Regions from separate parts of the Homo sapiens genome. Here regions 1 and 2 are each linked to region 3. The links are contacts of gene promoters, found by promoter capture Hi-C in blood cells and fetal thymus (Javierre and others, 2016). All regions are on one chromosome and are shown on one strand. The core of a region is centred on a gene start or on the middle of the fragment in contact, and the rest is flanking DNA. Distances in the headings are between cores, read along the strand shown. Region 1 holds the start of MIGA2 (mitoguardin 2). Region 2 holds the start of DOLK (dolichol kinase). Region 3 has its middle 1.7 kb from the start of C9orf50.

Region 1 (3,172 bases), core at 64-2,563, 590 kb before region 3:
TGGTTAACTGCAATCTCCTCCTCCCGGCTCAAGCAATTCTCCTGCCTCAGCCTCCCAAGTAGCTGGGATTATAGGTGTGTGCCACCACGCCCAGCTAGCTTTTTTATTTTTAGTAGAGACCGGTTTTCACCATTTTGGCCAGGCTGGTCTCGAACTCCTGACCTCATGTGATCCACTCACCTCAGCCTCCCAAAGTGCTGGGAATAGAGGCATGAGCCACTGCTACCGGCCGACGATTACAATTTTAAAACGTAGTTGTGCCCAGCTCTTCGCAGTTATGGAAGGGCTGATACACCGTCCTCTTTCCATCCTCACCAAAGCCCTATGATTTGGGAAAGGGAAGATTTTATCCCTATTTCTTTTTTTCTTTTTGAGACGGAGTCTCGCCCTTTGGCCCAGGTTGGAGTGCAATGGGTGGATCTCAGCTCACTGCAACCTCTGCCTCCCGGGTTCAAGAGATTCTCCTGCCTCAGCCTCCTGAGTAGCTGGGATTACAGGTGTGTGCTACCAAGCTTGGCTAATTTTTTTTTTTAATCTTTAGTGGAGACAGGGTTTCACCAGGTTGGCCAGGCTGGTCTCGAACTCCTGACCTCGTGATCCACCCACCTCGGCCTCCCAAACTGCTAGGATTACAGGCGTGAGCCACCGCGCCCGGCCTCATCCCTATTTCATAGAGGGGTAAGCTCTAGAGAGCTGAAGTGGCAACACTTGATTCTATCTCAGGTCGGCCTGATCTCAATCCTGGTATTTAGTGTAAGACCCAGATAGGTGGCCAGAACTGAAGACCCCTTGACTCCAGCTCTCAGAGAGACACTGTCTAGCGGCGAGACCTGGCACTTTTGCAAACAACTCCAGAACAAGGGGGAGAGTGGCGACAGTATAAGAGCATGCTGCGGGAAGTCAGGGGCGGTAGTATTTGAAAATGGGCGCTTGGAGAGTGGGAAGGATTTGTCCTTGTGTGGAACAAGAATAGAGGATCCTAATACGAGGGCTCAGCCTGCTTTGGCGTACTCCAAGAAAGCCCCTTGGAGGTCTGACTGCTCCGCTTCAGCCCCTTTAAGAATGGCCCCGCCCCACCCAGCCGCCCATGTCGATCTAATCTGAATGACCAATAGTAGAAGAGAAGAGACCACTTTCGCGCTTCAACCGCACTAGGAGGAGGGGAAGAGGGCGGGAGAGGCGGAATATAAGCTTGGTCACATGACCCGCCTAATTGGCCAGAGGCTGCGGCGGCCCTGAGAGACTCAGCGATGCTCATTGGCCAGAAGAGGGTGGGGGCTTGGCGCTAGGCCACGCCCCCGGGCGGCCGGTTTGGTTGCGCAGCCGCCGGGGAAGGAGACGCTGCCCTTCCGCAGCGATGGCATCCCGGGTGAGTATCGGCCCCGGCCGAGCCCCCAAGGCGGGCGGGCAGCGCGGCAGGGCCGGGACTTGAGCGGAGGACCGAGTAGGCGCAGGTGTCCGGGCCCAACAGGACCAGGAAGGTGTCGGGGTTGGAATGAGTGGGTACCCGGGCCGGGGACGGTGCGAGAGGGTGCCTTGCTTGGGAGCGGAACGAGAAGGTACTTGGGTCAGGGAGGTGATGCCCGGGCCTGGAACGTGGCGGGGATTGGAGCAGGCGCGCAGGTACCCGATCCGAGGCGGGGAGAGCACCCGGGATGGAAGGAGCAGGCGTGCGGGCCGTGAGCGGCGCCAGAGGGTACCTGGGTGAGTTTCAATGATATTCCGGGGTGGGGGCAAGAGAAGAAGGGGCTGCCCAAGATGCCTGGGGTGGAGTGAGCAATTTCTGAAGACGGGGATATTGCTGAGGTCCAACGCGGGGATGCCCGGTGCCCGGCATGGTGGGACTATTGAGGGGTCCGGCATGGGGTGAATAGGAGACTGGGCAGAGTGGCTCAAGGGAGTCGGGGACGTTGTTGGGGTCCAGACGGAATGAGTGAGTGCACAGGCCAGAGTCATTAGTGGGGTGGTCTAGCGCAGGGGAGGAGGCGCGTAGGATGATATGCTTAGGCACCCAGGCTGAGGGTGCTGTAAGTGCTGTGGTGACGGTGGAATGAGGAGGTGTCCGCCTAAGATTGTAGGGCACAAGAGATGGCTGCCCAAGTGGGGCCAGGCCCTACACAGCAGTAGAAGTGTCCATTTGGTAGGGGACCTTGCCGTGGGCTTTTCATTGTGGAGAGGAGGTGGAGGGGTCTCAGCTTAGGCCCTGGAGGACGGACAGGGTGCCAGGGGGACGGACACAGTGTGGGTTGACTGGATTTGGATCCATCCCTGGAGTGAAGCAGGCTTGGGGGCTGGTGATGTTACCTCGCACCTGCAGGCTCTGCCTCCCAGTGGGGACAGCAGGGGCTGCTCTGGACTCTCCCGCAAACAGTGGGCCTCAGTCACCCCTGTAGCGTTTATTTGTTCAGGCTCATCTTTAACACCATGTGGGCTTCTCACTTGGGGGCCCAGAAGTCCTACAGTTGTGGCCTGGAAGGAGCAGTGGCAGTTGTAGCAGGCAGAAGCTGGGAAACCCTGCCACAGCCTTGAGATCCCCCAGAGCTTGGCCGCTTAGTACTCGGTGACCTCAGGCAGGCTGCCTCATCTCAGAGCCTCCGCGTTTCCCCATCCTTGAGATAAACATTGGCCATTGCGAGGGTTCTGAGAGGACTGGACCCAAAGCCTGTCGTGGAGAGCCTGTTCTGGATCTGGCCTGGAATAAGAGCTTGGGAAATAGTAGCTGCTGGCCCTCTGATGTTCTTGTCTTCCCTCTTTCTGAGACCTGAGCCAGCCTGGGGTTGGGGTGAAGGGTAGGGGGACGTGGCTTACAGTATTAACCTAGGTCCTGACCACTGCAGCTCACGTAGCTCAATTCACAGCCTCCTGGGCAGATGTCTCTACCCCTGACAACCTGGAAGCTTCCTTAGCCTGCCCTGCCCTCTCACACACCCCCACCAGCCCTAGAGCGAGACTGACAGGCTCCTCAGTCCTTCCCACTCACTGGGGAGAAGCTGTTTCTTCTGCTGGCCCAGTGACTTTGGCGGCCATCCCAGGGAGACAGGGTCTGTCCTGGCTTGTGTGTTCCTTCCGCTTGAGGTCCCGGGAGACCTTGAAGGCATCCTTGGGCTTGGAGCTGGAAGTGGGGGAGGACCCTGCCGGGTCTTGGGGTCCAGGCTAGGTGTGATCAAGCCAC
Region 2 (2,947 bases), core at 384-2,883, 680 kb before region 3:
AGGACACCGGCATAGGGGACGAGGGCCCTGGCTCCTCCCAGGCTACCCTTCTGTGTGCAGGGTCTGGGGATCAGCCAGATGGGAAGAGACATGCCCAGGAGCAGGTAGATGTGTGTCAGAATGAGTGGTCCACTGTCTCGTTCATCCAGAAAAAGGGACAGGAAGCTCCGTAGAGTGTGACCCAAAGGCTTGATGCGGAAGTAGCGCACATACTCCAGGAAGATGAAGACCGCCAGGCATACAGTGGCGGCTACATAGAGCAGTGGCCGGTCAAAGATGATACCTGGGATGTAGGTGGCTACCACAATGAGGTGGAAATACTTTCGGGCGATGGTGGGGGCCTGGTGCTTCTTGGACTCGGAAGATGACCGCTTGGCATTCTGGTACAGCACCACCAGGCAGGCCAAGGTGGCCAGCAGAGACCAATAGGCTAGGAGGTAGATGCGGGTGTCTGTCTGGAAGAGAAACTGAAGAAGCCAGAGCAGGGGATTCCTGCGGATGAGCCGGTGCAGCCAGGGTAGGACCACACCAAGGCTCAGCACACAGGTCATGAGGTGGAAGAAGATGGAGGAGGCCCAGGTGCCTGAGTCCATGAAGACAAACAGAGTGCTGAAGAAAATGCCCATGAGTACCATCCCTACTACCACCACCAGCAGGAAGAAGTCCACTGGGTCCCCCTGACTTTCCACCAGTGTCAGAGAGCGCTTGATGAGCTGGTTGAGGACAAAGCTAATGCCACCCAATACCAGCAGTGCCTCACCAGGGGTGAAGCAGCGGGGCAGCAGGTACAGCAGGATCATGTTGAGATAAACGAAGATCAGAAGGACTTCCAGGACTTCGATCACCTCCCCCACGCTCAACGAGTGCTTCATGATATAAATGATAACACCTCCAGCCAAGCCCAAGATGACACAAGTGTTGGTTGGCACTGGGCGAGTGATGCCGAGCGCCAACACTGATGAGAAGAGGGCCACTGCCATGCCAGTGGCTGCCACCACAATGCCAAAACGCTCAAAGAACGGGTTCCCAGCAGTCTGGCACCGCTCCTTCATGACTAGTCCAAGCAAAGGCATGACCATGGAGGCGGGCAATAGGCCACTGTTTGCGGACATTCGGAACTGGAAGACGGCGCTTCCCTGCTGTAGCAGCCGGTCCCACTTGTATTGGACGTAGAAGGCCTGCACTGCGAGGGCCACGGCGCACCACGAGTATCGGTCCCATACGGTTGCGTGGATGCTCAGCACCACTGCAAACACTACTGCCGCCTCTGCCAGCACCGATCCACTCAGCGGAGCCCCAGGCCCCGGGGCCGGAGATGGGCACTCTCGGGTCATATCTCTAGACCTGGGGCTTCACGGAGGCCGGGGCGACTACGGACGCCCTAGACTTCGGGCCCCTCAGCCCCGTCAAGCAGAGGGAGGCACTTTCACCCGGCCAGCAACCTTCTCCCTCCGTTCTCCAGCAGCGAGGAGGGAACTCCACCGCAGGTCACTTCTGCGGCCTGGGAGCTGGCGCCCGGCCACCCCCCACAGCCTCCAACCTACGGCGTAGACGTCGCCACTCTGCAGCCTTCCTCACAGTTACAGCCGCCCCCGCTGCCGGCTCCTCACCTCTTTGGGCCTCGCCATCTTGGCACCGCCCCGCGGCAACGTCACGTGACGAAATCCCCGCCCACGCTCCGGGTCCGGGGGCGAGCGGTCACGTGGGCATGGCGTCTGGGGGCGGGGTTAGGGCGAGCGGGCGCGCGAAGATGGCGGCGGCCGCCGGCGGGCCGTGTGTGAGGTGCGGAGCGGGTCGAATGGACCGGGGTGGCTGTGAAGCGCGGTGTCAAAGCCGAGCGGAAGCGGGGCGGGAATTGGAGGCGGGATGTGGCGACAGTGGCAGGGCCAACCCCGGCTGGATGGACGGGCACCGAGACGGGAGGCGGTTACGTCCAAACGGTCCCCGCGCGCGGGGATCTGAAGAGTCTTCTTCAGGAGGGGGGCCGGCTCTTCACCCCTTCCCTCCGCGCTCGGCCTCCCATCTCCTCACCCAGGGCCCTTTGCCTTCCTCCTCTCTCACCTCCGACGCGTCTCTTGGCGCCCCACCCGCGCTTCCTTCTCCGGCCGTGACGCTCCCTCGAGCCACGGGGAGCTTTGCGGTCTCCTGGGGTACCCCCCACCCACGTCCCTGCTGCAGGCTCCCAGTGTCCTGCCCCGGCGTCGAGTGCGCCCTGCTGGCTCCCCGACCTCTCCCGCGATCTGTTCTTGTTAGGATTTTGTTTCGCGTTGAGCGGAGCCACGCTTGCGGCTTCTGTCCTCTCCGCGCCTCGTATCGTTCTTTTCTTGCACTGAATCAAGTCAGCCAGCATGTCCAAATCCTCCAAGAGATTTCAGGGATTGAACTAGGCTTTAGGGACAAGAAGATGAAATATTATATACGAAAACTACAATTCTGACAAAGTGCTTTCTAGCGTCAGACCCTGGTGGAGCGCTTCCCAGGAGTTATCTCATTCAATTCTCGCAACTCCGAGAGGCGCCTTCTATTTCACAGATGACTCAGAAGTCCGGCTCAGAGCTAGCCAAGTGATAAAGAGAGCCTTCAAGCTGAAGTCTGCGTACCTCCAGTGCTATAACCAGACCACCACGCCTCCTTCTGTCTTCCACATTGCAGCTCGAAGGTCTTCGTTCTTCCCACCACCCTCCCTCAAAGTTAAACATCCCCGTCTCTTATCCTTCCCTGTGCCAGCAGTGTTTTCCCCACTTTTTTTTTTTTTTTTTTTTTTTTTTTTTTTTGAGACGGAGTCTCGCTCTGTCGCCCAGGCTGGAGTGCAATGGCACGATCTCGGCTCACTGCAAGCTCTGTCTCCCGGGTTCATGCCATTCTCCTGCCTCAGCCTCCCAAGTAGCTGGGGATACAGGCACCCGCCACAACGCCTGGCTAATTTTTTGTATTTTCAGTAGAGACA
Region 3 (2,987 bases), core at 84-2,583:
TCTGCTGGAGCCAAGACAGTTTGTTGTTCTTGTTGTTGTTGTTAAAGAGATGGGGTCTTGCTAAGACGGGGTCCTGCTGTCACCCAGGCTGGAGTGCAATGGCACCATCATAGCTCACTGCAGCCTCAAATTCTTGGGCTCAAGTGATCCTCCTGCCTCAGCCTCCTGAGTAGCTGGGACTACAGGCACACACCACCACAGTTGGCTAATTTTTGTATATTTTGTAGAAATGGGGTAGAATTTTTTTGTATTTATGTTGCACGGGCTGGTCTTGAACTCCTGGGCTCAAGTGATCCACTTGCCTTGGCCTCCCAAAGTGCTGGGATCACAGGCGTGAGTCCCCACTTCTGGCCAAGACACAGACTTTTAACAAACTCCCCCTTTGGGAGGCAGAGCCCCAGTCTTACTCCCAGCTCTGACACTGAGGGGTTTCTAAGCCTGCTTCCTCCCAACCACACCCCACTCCCAGATTGTTGTCAGCTCTGAGCTGACTCCTGGGCAGTGTCACACTCACCCTGGTGGGCTTCTGGGTGGGGCCCTAGAAGGTCCTGTGAGTTTAGAGCTCTCTACAGGCAGGCTGTAGAGCCCATCATCCCTGCCTGGTGCCTCTCCCAGCCCCTCCCGGCTGCCTCTGGGCCGCTTCAGGGTCATTGTGATCCGCCCCTCACCCCTGGGCATCTGAGTAGCAGTGGGCACTGAGGCCTGGGGACTAAGGGTGGGGCTATTGTGCCCTGGATGCCCTGGCCGCAGCCACCTGGGGCACTGGGACTCTGACCAGGGCAGCCAGGCCTACCCTTTCCAGATCTGGGAGGCTTAGGCTGGGTGGCTCTGGAAGTAGAACTTCCACCCCAAGACCAGGCAGTCAGAATACAATGGACCTAGAAATGAACAGACCCTGCGGGGCACGGTGTCTCACGCCTGTAATCCCAGCACTTTGGGAGGCCGAGGCGGGCGGATCACCTGAGGTCAGAAGTTCAATACCAGCCTGGCCAACATGGTGAAACCTCGTCTCTACAAAAAATACCAAAATTTGCCATGCATGGTGTTGTGCACCTATAATCCCAGCTACTTGGGAGGCTGAGACAGGAGAATCGCTTGACCCTGGGAGGCGGAGGTTGCAGTGAGCTGAGATCATGCCACTGCACTCCAGCCTGGGTGACAAAGCGAGACTCCATCTCAAAAATAATAATAATAATAATCCAAGGTCTGGGTGCTAGGTGTGCTTCTTGCTATTGAGATGTCATTTCTTTCAGGCAGTCTCAGCTGACAAAGAAATGTGTGTGTATACTATGAAACACACACATATCTATAAATATTTCTATAGGTAACCATCTGTACTTATATTAAGCTAAACATGAGCTCATGCTGACATCTCCAACTCTAATCCGTTACACAGATCATTTGAGACTCTGTCTCACAAAAAAAAAAGAGGCCAGGTTCCAGTGGCTCATACCTGTAATCCTAACACTTTGGGAGACCGAGGCAGGTGGATTGCCTGAGCTCAGGAGTTCGCAATCAGCCTGGGCCACATGGTGAAACCCCGTCTCTACTAAAATACAAAAAAATTAGCCGGGCGTGACAGCGTGTGCCTGTAGTCCCAGCTACTTGGGGGGCTGAGGTAGGAGAATTGCTTGAACCCGGGAGGCGGAGGTTGCAGTGAGCCGAGATCACGCCACTGCACTCCAGCCTGGGCAACAGAGTGAGACTCCATCTCCATAAAAAAAAAAAGAAAGAAAGAGCCGGGCACGGTGGCTCACGCCTGTAATCCCAGCACTTTGAGAGGACAAGGCGGGTGGATCATGAGGTCAGGAGATCGAGACCATCCTGGCTAACACGGTGAAACCCTGTCTCTACTAAAAATACAAAAAATTAGCTGGTTGTGGTGACGGGTACCTGTAATCCCAGCTACGCGGGAGGCTGAGGCAGGAGAATGGCGTGAACCCAGGAGGCGGAGCTTGCAGTGAGCGGAGATCGCGCCACTGCACTCCAGCCTGGGCGACAGAGCAAGATTCCATCTCAAAAAAAAAAAAAGAAGGAAGGAAGGAAGGAAGGAAGAAAAGAAATTAACAGACCCACTTTCAAGTCCATGGTCTGCTGTTTTGCTGTGTGATCCTGGAGAAGTGTCTTCTTTCTCAGGACTCCCTGGGCCTTATCTCTGAGTCTTGGCTGGGAGAGGGCCGAGAGGAAGCTCATAGTATTGTGAAGCTGGGGTGGGAGACAGAGGTCATTTACATGAGTATTTCACTGGCGTGGCATAGTTTCATAATTTGAAAATGAAGAAACGACTTTGTAATTCAAATAACAGAGTGACTCACTAGAGAACGCGTCGCCAAAGATATATTCTATTTTCTGTCAATGCTTCTCACCAGGGATGGAGGGACATACTTTCCTGGAGAGCTACAATATTGAGTGGGGGAGGGAGATATTTTTGTATTTATTTAAAGGGTATGTGTCTTTTTTAATGGCTGCGAAACACCAGATTAACTAGACGGTTTCTTTTTTTCTTTTCTTTTCTTTTTTTTTTTTTTGGAGACGGAGTCGCGATCTCAGCTCACTGCAAGCTCCGCATCCTGGGTTCACCCCATTCTCCTGCCTCAGCCTCCCGAGTAGCTGGGATTACAGGTGCCCACCACCACGCCCGGCTAATTTTTTTGTATTTTTAGTAGAGACGGGGTTTCACCGTGTTAGCCAGGATGGTCTCGATCTCCTGCCCTTGTGATCCACCTGCCTCGGCCTCCCAAAGTGCTGAGATTACAGGCGTGAGCCACTGCGCCTGGCCTAACTAGATGGTTTCTAAGGAGCCCTCCAGCCCTTGCACTCTGCAAATATTTATCAAGGAACTACTATGTGCTAGGCTTGGGAATTCAGAGATGCCAGAGGCTTTGAGGTCAGGGAGCCGGCCAGTCCTGGGAAGGCCTTGGAGCGTGGCTGTGGGGAAGGGGCTTGCTCTTCTGTTGACAGGAAATAAGACAGGGCTGGATTTTTAG

What was found. Contacts are between HindIII fragments. The CHiCAGO score rates a contact against its expected background, and 5 or more counts as called.
Region 1: a contact is called between the fragment with the promoter of MIGA2 here and a fragment that was not itself captured in region 3, in 7 of 17 cell types (endothelial precursors, M0 macrophages, total CD4 T cells and 4 more). The highest score is 12.7, in endothelial precursors.
Region 2: the fragment with the promoter of DOLK here is called in contact with a fragment that was not itself captured in region 3 in 1 of 17 cell types (endothelial precursors); the score reaches 5.1 in endothelial precursors.

The regions. Positions count from the first base shown.
Region 1 is chr9:129,035,313-129,038,484 of GRCh38, forward strand. MIGA2 (mitoguardin 2) reads left to right here and starts at 1,314. Exons shown (of 16, transcript NM_001329990.2): 1 at 1,314-1,369. RefSeq lists a silencer at 1,299-1,428 and an enhancer at 1,769-1,898. The HindIII fragment of the contact is 1,706 bases long and covers 1,190-2,895 here.
Region 2 is chr9:128,945,970-128,948,916 of GRCh38, forward strand. DOLK (dolichol kinase) reads right to left here and starts at 1,634. Exons shown (of 1, transcript NM_014908.4): 1 at 1-1,634. The coding sequence starts at 1,334. It overlaps NUP188 (nucleoporin 188), which reads left to right and starts at 1,730. Exons shown (of 44, transcript NM_015354.3): 1 at 1,730-1,782. The coding sequence starts at 1,751. RefSeq lists enhancers at 394-956, 957-1,518, 1,380-1,449, 1,519-2,080, 1,800-1,849. The HindIII fragment of the contact is 6,982 bases long and covers 1-2,947 here.
Region 3 is chr9:129,621,315-129,624,301 of GRCh38, forward strand. It overlaps a transcript of NTMT1 not described here and a transcript of C9orf50 not described here. Among named protein-coding and RNA genes, the nearest start is that of C9orf50, 1.7 kb to the left of the region's middle. RefSeq lists enhancers at 2,770-2,909, 2,920-2,969. The HindIII fragment of the contact is 3,526 bases long and covers 1-2,987 here.